2 separate regions of the Homo sapiens genome follow, and region 1 is linked to region 2. Evidence: promoter capture Hi-C in 16 types of primary human blood cells and fetal thymus (Javierre and others, 2016). All regions are on one chromosome and are shown on one strand. The core of a region is centred on a gene start or on the middle of the fragment in contact, and the rest is flanking DNA. Distances in the headings are between cores, read along the strand shown. Region 1 holds the start of SERPINA7 (serpin family A member 7). Region 2 holds the start of PWWP3B (PWWP domain containing 3B).

Evidence for each region. Contacts are between HindIII fragments. The CHiCAGO score rates a contact against its expected background, and 5 or more counts as called.
Region 1: a contact is called between the fragment with the promoter of SERPINA7 here and the fragment with the promoter of PWWP3B in region 2, in 2 of 17 cell types (total CD8 T cells and endothelial precursors). The highest score is 5.9, in total CD8 T cells.

Annotation. Positions count from the first base shown.
Region 1 is chrX:106,036,988-106,041,967 of GRCh38, forward strand. It overlaps SERPINA7 (serpin family A member 7), which reads right to left and starts at 1,740. Exons shown (of 5, transcript NM_000354.6): 1 at 1,711-1,740; 2 at 1-88. The coding sequence starts at 71. The HindIII fragment of the contact is 3,176 bases long and covers 1,211-4,386 here.
Region 2 is chrX:106,166,831-106,171,547 of GRCh38, forward strand. It overlaps PWWP3B (PWWP domain containing 3B), which reads left to right and starts at 1,475. Exons shown (of 4, transcript NM_001171020.2): 1 at 1,475-1,595; 2 at 4,182-4,309. The HindIII fragment of the contact is 1,861 bases long and covers 1-1,527 here.

The sequences.
Region 1 (4,980 bases), core at 490-2,989, 130 kb before region 2:
TCAGGTGATGCACAGTGGATTGTAGCATGAAGCCCAAGTACCAAGAGAACCAGATACAGGAATGGTGACATTTTGGAAGGAAGTTAATCTATAAGAGATGAAGTGAGACAACCACTGAGGGAGCTTAGTTGGATGAAACACTCCCTGAGCCAGAGACACATAATAACCACCCACATTGATTAATAAAACAATAGTAAATATTTGATGATGTGCTCATCAGGGGCTGAGCAGGGGTTTCTCTCCCTTGAAAAACAGGAGATGCATCTAATATGGACAGGGAGTAGGAGAAGTGGCTTGCTGCAACCACGGAAATAATGCCATGGACTGTCATTCAGATGTTATAGCAACATTATGAAAACGCTGTGAGTAAATTAAATTTATGGAAATTGAATCACTTTTTTTCTGAACTAGAGGCAGCCTTTTGGAGAGAGGGGATATTCTTAGGTTAAACTAGTACTCCCTCTGTATACATTATTCATTGTAGATTAGAATTTTAGATTTTTTTTTTCATCTGGCATTTTCTTAAGATAAAATCTATGAGATGAGAGAACACTCGCATCTTATTTGGCTAAAAGACAAAATGAAAGTAATTTGTACAATATATGATTAGTTGGAATGGATGGGTGGTGGTTTATGGAGCCACGTACAAGGTCATGAGCTGAAATTCATGCATTTTGCAATGCATGGAAGCCATAGAGGTATTTTCGAACAACCAGAAAATGAAAGAATAATTTTCTAAATTTTACATTTCTTTCACCATTAATCTTAGTAACATCTAAACAGTCATTTCTAAGTTGTAAGACATCTTAACACTATTATTCTTACACCTATGCATGTTACTTTTAATTATTATAAAGAAAGCCAGAAAGATAAGGTGTAAGGTTCTCTGATCCTGAAAGAGTGCAAAGAAATGGAGTAAAGAAGTCAGGTGTGGAAATCCAATGAAAGTGGACATGTGTGCTTAGAAGGAAGAGGTCTATGAACTCAGAAAAAGGATCCTTCCTCCACCCTCCATCTTCTTCCTGAGTGATCTTACCCTCCGCACTCAATTGCTAGAAACTGTATCTCTCTCAGATTGCTCTCCTGAGCTCCTAGCCATTTATCCAGCTTTCTTTTGGATATAACCACCAGGATGGTCCACACAGACCTCAGTCTCAATAAGAAAATCTCAAAGTTGCCAGATGTAAACATATCATCTCCCTACACCTTAAGCTTGCTCCCTCATCTTCATTCCACATCTCAGTTTATCACATCACTGTCTATAGAGACACCTAAGCCAGATACCTGGGAATAATCATAGCCTCCTTTTATTCTCATTCCCCATATCTAATGAAGCATGATGTCTTATGAATACTAACTCTTAAATAACTCTCAAAACTTCTCCCTTCTCTTCATTCCTGCTGCCTCTGCCTCTCAGTTCATGGCCTGAGCTACTATATCAGCTCCTAACAGATCACACCATCTCCTATATCCTCCATACCAACCCCCTTTGTTCACCACTCTATCCAATCTCCATATCATCATCAGAGTCCTCTTTCTTTAAAAGTCACTGAGGCTGGTAGAAAGTCAATTATTAGATGACCACACTTAGACCTTCACCCCTAGAGCCAGGAATTTGGTTTGGGACTCTGACTTGCCAACTTGGTTATTTGGGACTCTGACTTGCTGATAGAGATGTTCAAAGTTTCCAAAGAGAAAAAAAGTACTTACAGCAAATGCCCAAGAATCCACCTGCATCTCTCAGAAAGCAACATCTTTCCATTTTTATAGCATGTCCTGTATTGCAAAACTAGAGCACTCTTAGTTATAAATTAACCCCAGCATTAACCCTGGGATGGTATTTTCAAAGCTGATGTACAAAACCAAGGCCAAGAGGAACAAAGCAAAAAATGATAAGGTTTGAACTTTGAGTGATTGCTTTGGCTGCCAGACCCTTCATGTAAAACAAAAGAGAAAGAGGATTGTCAGAGCTGGAGGGGTTTAAGTCCATGCTGGCAAGAGTGTCTTCAGCAGGCAGAATAGGGGCCATAGGCAAAAGCACCAAGAGGCAGCAGGAAAAAGTTCTCACTATTGGGCCAAACAGCAGTGGAATTGGCAGTTTTTTAAGGGAAAGTTGTACAAAAGCAGAGGCTGGGTGATCCTTTCTAATAGGTTCTGTAGAAATTATACATGCATTCGCAGAGGAAATGATGTCAAAGGTAGCTTCCAGCCCTAGACTTCTGATGCTGCAAACATATATGTCTGCTAAGGGGGAAACCAGCCCTGTCTTCTCGTCATTAAAATTCCCTGTACCGTCCCCTGGCCACAGGACTCCAAAAGAGGATGCAGAAGGAGTCAAGGAGACTGAAATTAAAGATTCCACTGTCCAGTATTAATTGTGTACTGATTATATGCAAAGAAGCAATGGGAACAAAAAGAACTGGACTCAGTCAGGAGACTTGAGTTCAACCTGCTTCTGAAAGTTTCCAGCTCTAGTAGTAGTAGTAGTAGCAGTAGTAGCAGTAGCAGTAGCAGCAACAGCAACTCCTGCTTCTGAGTATTTACTACAGGCATGTGAAGCATTTTACTACAGACATTTTGTGAAGCATCAGATTCCAGACCCTGCCAGCTTCAGTACTACATTAAGAATCTATGTGTTAATTTGTAGTGGGAGGGGAGGCAGGGAATGAGGAGCTAGTTCGAACTAAGCCTAGATGCAGTCTATGGTAGGACTTATAATCCAGGACAAATAGTACTGACTTTACCTTGAGGGCACTGGGAAGCCACTGGGGGATAGACAGAGGGTGACTCTGTGTACCATTATTTCTTCTTAACAAAACATAGACTAAGCTCCCACTGTGTGGAAAGAACCACAGTCAGCACTGAGGTTTCAGAGCTGGTTGGTAAATATCAGTCCTGAACCCAAGAGGTCTTTCTAACTACCTGACACCCGCTGCCCATATTGAAGAAGGCACACCTCACAAATGTGATGGTCACTAGTACATGTGTCCTAAAGAAAGGGAGTGACAAGCTCAAGTCTCTAGACTGCGAGGTTAGTCCATGTAATATAACACATTGCTCTCTCAGCTACAGCAAGTCCCTGCAGAGAAAACAGCAAAAGACTGTGTAAAAAGAAAACTTCCAAACCTGTGCCCTCTGGTGGCATAGTCAGACAATGGCACAGGTTGTTTTCTGCTGCTTCTGATTCAGCTGAGCTTTGCTAGCAGGGCTTATCTCCGACATAAGAGAAAGGTACCCTTCCCTCTGCAGACTCCCTTGCCCTGTGCTCTGGCATCACAGGCATTAGACCTGTGCCCCTGCCATGTCTCTATGTTGTAACTGTGTAATTTGGGACAAGTTACCTAGTATCCTTGAACCTCAGTTTTCTCACCTCTAAAGTGGAAATAATAATGATTCCCATGTCATGTGGTTATTGAGAGTATAAAATGAAATTTAGAGGTGGTGTCCAGAAGCTCCTATAATAGTGCCCCGTACAAAGTGGGGATCCAGAAACAGATAATTCTCTTCCCTTTCTTCTGTTATCATATATTCCCTCACCTCAAGTCTCCATATTCCCTGGGCTTTATCTCTACCCCCTACTGCTGTTCATTTCTGCTTTCTGCTAATACATTCTCCTTCAGATGCAATTGATTGAGAAGGTGTAAGATCTTGCAAACTTATATTTATCACAATAATTTCAGTCTTGTGTAAAGCTGCTAGAGTAGCACATTGAATAAAGACTCTCTAGGAAGTTTTACCATATCAATAAATTCAATCAGATCTAAAATTATATATCTCCTTTTTTGAATGAACACCCTCATAATTATTCCCACACAAATTTTATTTTAGAAATGTTCAACGTTCCACAGTTCTTTCAGTTTGTAAACACTTTTCTCATTGTTTTGATATTTGATCCTCCACCCTAGTCTGGAGAGAAATGATGGGATCTTACTCTGCTTACAGGTCTGGAGACAACAATAGTTGTGAGATGGTGGCATTAGGAAAATTGGCTTCTTTTTGCAATTTAAGTCTCACGGGCAAGGAAATTACCGGGTGTGTAAGCAAAGGAGAAACAGCTGCATTGGACAAAGAGAAAGACTGCTTTTGCTGGCAAGAGAGGCTCAGTGGGGATTTGGAGTTGAGGTTCTTTTAACTCTCTCAACTGTCCTATTCTTGAATTTTTACTCTTTGCATTTCAGTGACTAATTTCGACAAAACCGACATCAATGTTGAGAAATCAACAAATTCTGTAATTTGGTAATACACAGGATCAAATGGCAAGCATAGGATTTGGCTAACTTAGCTCTCCAGAAATTATATTTACATGTTCCCTGTCTTCCATATATTCCTGGAGCACTTGAGCCAAGAAATTAGGCTTCTGAGCAAGAATTTAGGCTTCTTTTTTAAAGCTTTCTAGTGCCATCATAAGCATCCACTTCACCTCACAATCTATTAACTACTTACATTTTTCAGACTTCTCTATGGCAGCAATGAGGTCTTCTAAAGCCAGGCCTTCCAAAGGCTTTACATTTTAGAGAACCACTTAATTAAATGATATGCTCTTTCATTTCATGGGCTGCCATATTCCCCTTATAGAACACAAATGGAGTTTTCAACTACCTTTAGCCCTAATGGGGCAGAAAATCAACTTCAAAATTCCCCAATTTCCTTAAATTTTGTTGCATGAAACCTAATTTCTGTTATCAATGTCTGTATTAGTTATAGTACTTGGATCTAAATAACAGTAACTGCTGTTGCTAACCTTAAAATAAAAGACACTTATTGAAGGATATACATTTACCCAAAATGAAAAGGAATGCCAAAGAAACTTGCTCATTTTGTATGGAGAAAAACATGGGGACAGAGGTATGAATTTATCCCACTTCATAGACAATGGTTAATAGTTTGGCTGGAAGTCCTTTGGAAAGGACATGATTATAAAATAAGTGATAAACAAGTGTAGGGAAGAGGTATATGTGGCTATCTCTGCAAATGGGCATA
Region 2 (4,717 bases), core at 225-2,724:
GTCAAAAGGTACATGAAAAGGTGACTGTAGTTAATAATATGTAATGTATATTTGAAATTTGCTAAGAAGGTAGATCTAAAGCGTTCTCATCTCACACGAAATGGTAACTATGTGAGGTGATGGATATGTTACCTGGCTTGATTGTGGTAATCATTTCACAGTGTACACATATATCAAATCATCACATTACCCATCTTGAATATATATAATTTTTGTCAATTGTACAAAAAAATCACATTCCAAGACCAAAATAAACAGACATTAATCTGGGAGAGATCAAAGTACTTTGTAGGTAAAAGAGCCTCAGGAGGAGGCACTGACCACCAGTTCCTTTTACTTCTATAAGAGCTAATCAAATTTTTCTTACTTGCCCAATAATGTATTTCTATCCATTTTTGCATTATTATACATTTTGAGGTAATCTCGTGGGTACAAAAAGTTTACAATTGTCATATCTTAAAAATAATGAAGAAAATGTGGTAAAAATAAGTTGAATAGCAGATGAAACCAAAATTGTCAGCTTTATTAAGAGGGGAAGATAAATTGCAGGACTTTGCTTGTGAGAGTGAAATGAGACTAACAGAACTCCAGACTTAAGGAAACCTATCCATCAGCCTAGAAGCATATTTCTCTAGTCTAGAAGACGCAGAGAGCCTTCAAGTTACACTGCTTTGAGATTTCTTCACAGTGAAGTGAATATCAGGAATAGGGAAGGACGTTGGGAATTCTCTGCTTGTGTTCTTTGCCCCTTTCTCTACTTTGTTGTTCATTTCTTTCTTATTGAAATGAAAGAACTAGCTTGGGTATATTTTTGTTTATCTAATCATATGGACAAACAAAAGCACTTGAAAAGCACTCCTAAGTTTGCGGCTGATTTTTTAACTTGGCCTATGGTGATTTTACGCTTAATACATTTTTTTTTTCAATTTCAGTATAATCAGATTTTGTCTGAGGATTTTTCTTTGGAAATGACCTAAGGAAAGAAGTATAAGAAACTTGAATAAAAGGAGAGATATATTATGTCCCAGGTTCAGATTCAAAATTGTAAAGAATTAATTCTACCTAAAATAAAGTATTAATTCACTGTAATCCAAATCAAAATACTTAGCGTATGTTTTTTTGTGAAGTTTGGCCAGTAGGTCTTAAATTTACCAGAAATAAAGTACAAAAGAGGATCAGAAAAAATATATGTAAGGAACGTTTTAACCACATCTTTATTATATGAAAAAGAGATTTGCTGTTGCTTCTCTTTTTCCATTAAAACACCTATCCTAGGGGGTTGAATGGAAATTGAACAGACATAGGTTACCATTACACTTTAAAGTACTTTAAGAGGAACATTTCTTCCCTTTAACTGTATTTCGGTTTAAGTTGGTCATTTTTCTCCTAAGCGAAGGAAGAACCTCGTGCTTTCCCCATCACGGAGAGGGGGCGGAGCATCCTCTAGGAGCTTGGAAGAAAGCTGCGCCCAGCCAGTCTTCGGGGAGGAGCTGCATTACACACAGGCTTCGGAGGCTTCCGTGGAGAAGCTTGGAGGTAATGGCTGTCGTAAATGCTAGTTATTTTCAGAGAGTTCTCGAAGATTTGGAATAAAGGTGAGAAAAGAAGAGAGTGCTGCTTAGGAATAACGGGAAAGGAGTGTCGTTCTGTGAGGGTCGTTGTTTCTGTGAGGGAATTAATATCTGTGTTTTGTGTTCCTTCAGATTATTTTAAAAGTCCACAGTCGGGGAGGTGGTAATCAACATTACACCTGTGGAAAAATATTCTTAAAGAGGTAGCAAAAGCTAACTTTTTAATAGAGCATTTTATGTTTCCATCAAAAGGCAGTGGTGGCTGAGATAAATGATGAAACAAAACTTGGGAGTTTAATCTTCCTTATTTTGAAAAAGGTTGTAATAGTCTTAAATGAAAAATTAAGTTGTTGGGGATGTTGGTTTTTTATATTACTTTGAATGTGTTGTGTTTCTAACAAATCTTACTGTTTTGGTGGAGTATGTTAGTAATTTAAAGTAATGCATAACTGTGCAAATTCGAGTATCTCTGAGAATTAGTTTGGTTATTTGTCAAGGGATACACAATGACTTAATATAATAGCTTTTTAAATAATGTGCAAAATATGATCTTTGTCTGTACTTCTACCTATCTCTCAAGAGAATTGTACATTCCTATTTGTACTGCAATGGAAAAAATCTAAAAGATCATAACAATAACAGACGTGCATTAGTATAATAAAACACAACAAACAATATACTTAGTAATAAAGGATGCCTGATAAAAAAGGATGTCAGGGGAAAAAGGAGGAAATTTTCCACTTCTTTCTTCCACATTTTACTTAGCATGTAGTTTCTATGTCGGCATAGAAACTGAGATGAGAACTTAAAATCATGGGGAAAAGCTACTTTCCCCAAAATAGCGTAAACTCATATATAAACAGGGAAAGGTGTTCAAATATGTGGCTAAATAAATGTAATTTTAAATAGTATATTCAAACATGTATGTGATGAGGAAAAAAATAAAAAGGATTAGACATCAAATGTATGCCGTGAACAACTCAGGGTTTGAGTACTGATGATGTGTATTTTCATCTTTAGATTTTTATGTACTTTTAGATTCTTTTGGAAACGATAATGGAGCTGAAAAGGGAATAATCACTTTTGTTACAGACACTTGAGCAAATAGCCACACACACATTCCATTGTCTTTAGCTGCAGTAGGATTTTTCTATGGGTCTGAGAAGGCTCATTACCTGATTGCTTGTGCTTTTCTTGCAATTCAACTATTGAGGCTATAGTCCAGACTCTGGTTCAAGCAGAACATATTTATCTTTATACTCCTGAGGAATAATTCGTAAAATGTTTTAAACATATTATGACATAGTCATATAGGATAGTATATCTATAATGTTGAATACTACGCAGCTGTAAAAGGAATGAGTTAACTCTAAATGCAATGATTAGAGTAAATGTCCAAGGTAGTTTCTAAAAATAAGCAAATTGAAGAATGGCCTGTATCATGTAATCCTATTTGTTTACCAAAAAGAATGTGCATGCATTCGTACAGTGTATGCAATAAAAACCTGGAAATATACATGCTACTTTATTAATTGGAGAAATCTGGAAATAATACATGCCACTTTATTAATTGGAGATATAAGTGTTCTTATATCTCCACACATATCTCCAATTAATAGACAGAATATTTTAACCTTCTATGTATTACATTTCCCCATTTTAAAAATTTCATTTTGAAAAGAGCAAGCCTGAATAATTTTCATCATGAGAAAAACATAAAATTTTAGAAATGTGGAAAAAATTTTGTAAAGCAATTCACAAAAAGATGATATGGAAAATAATTATTGATATGGAAAGATGTTCAAATATATTACTGGAGGAATAAAGGGTCTAGTTTCAAAAAGCTTCCACATTGGTAAGTCTCTACAGAAAAAAATCTAGAAATATACAGAGCAAACCATTACATTTTGACCATTGTTGTGGAGATTTCCTTTCTTCTTTGGAAATCCAAAAGATGTAGAAAGATATATACAATTTGCATGAGAGATATTATGATGAAAAATATTAAAATGAGAACATTATGATCCCATTTTTGTATAACACATGCACAGAACTCTTAAACTGAGAATGAAAAATTCTAGAAGCCTGAGTGTCTGCAGTTCTGGTTCTGGTCACAAGATGGTGCTTGCCAGGTTTACTAAGCTTTGTCCAGGCAAATATTTTTATGAAGTGGACAAAGCAATGAAATATGTTTTGTATTAGCCGACTATGAGACAGCATGTAGAGTGTGATTGAAATTCCATTCAAAATATTATAAATATCTAGAAGAAAAATCCCCACCAATAACTGACATGAAGACTCACACAGAAATCATAAAAAATGCTGCTACATAGAGTCTGGCCCATAGTAGAAACAAGTCAATTGTTCTTTCCCTTCTCTCTTTTCTCCACCTCATAATTTTCCTGAAGGATATGATTTTAGCATGAACGAAATAACATAACTGACCCAGAGAGCATTTCATATTATAATAACATGAAGGAAAATAGATGGCATCTACATCACAGATGAGATTTTGCCTCATTCCTGTGTTTTGGAATGACAGCCTGTTAGAGTTTAGGTAGGGAAATTTATTTACACCTTTTCCATTTCATTGGTTTGATTCCCTGCCAGCCGAGCCCCAGAAAGACAGGTCAACCACAGAAGTGCTGAGCCAGGTAAAGACCCTGCTGGACAAGCAGCTGGAGTGAGAATCAAGACAGCTGGACCACAGGACCAGACCCAGCAGTATCCATGTAACAGTGAGTAAGACTCTTCCCATTTCACAAAACATTTCACGGTATAAACATGTTGAGAACTTGGAGAACAATGTATTTTGCTTCCGGCTCTACAGTCATCATAGCATTTTAAATTAAAAGCCACATTTCATGTAAGGATTATGTTAGGTTGAGAATTTGGGGTGTACTTCATTTTGTTTCCTGTTCTACAGCTATCATGTTTGTAATTAAAAGTCATAACTTCTAGTTTTTGGAAAGAATCCATATATTATACCACTATGAAGAAATCATGCAAGAGGCTATGCAGGTGTCTCCCTGAGGCCTGACTCTGTAGTCCTTGACAACTATACTAGGTTGTCATACCATAAACTAGATAACATAGTTATAAAGGTTTCTTAGAACCTGCTTAAGGTCTTATGACCTTCTTGAATC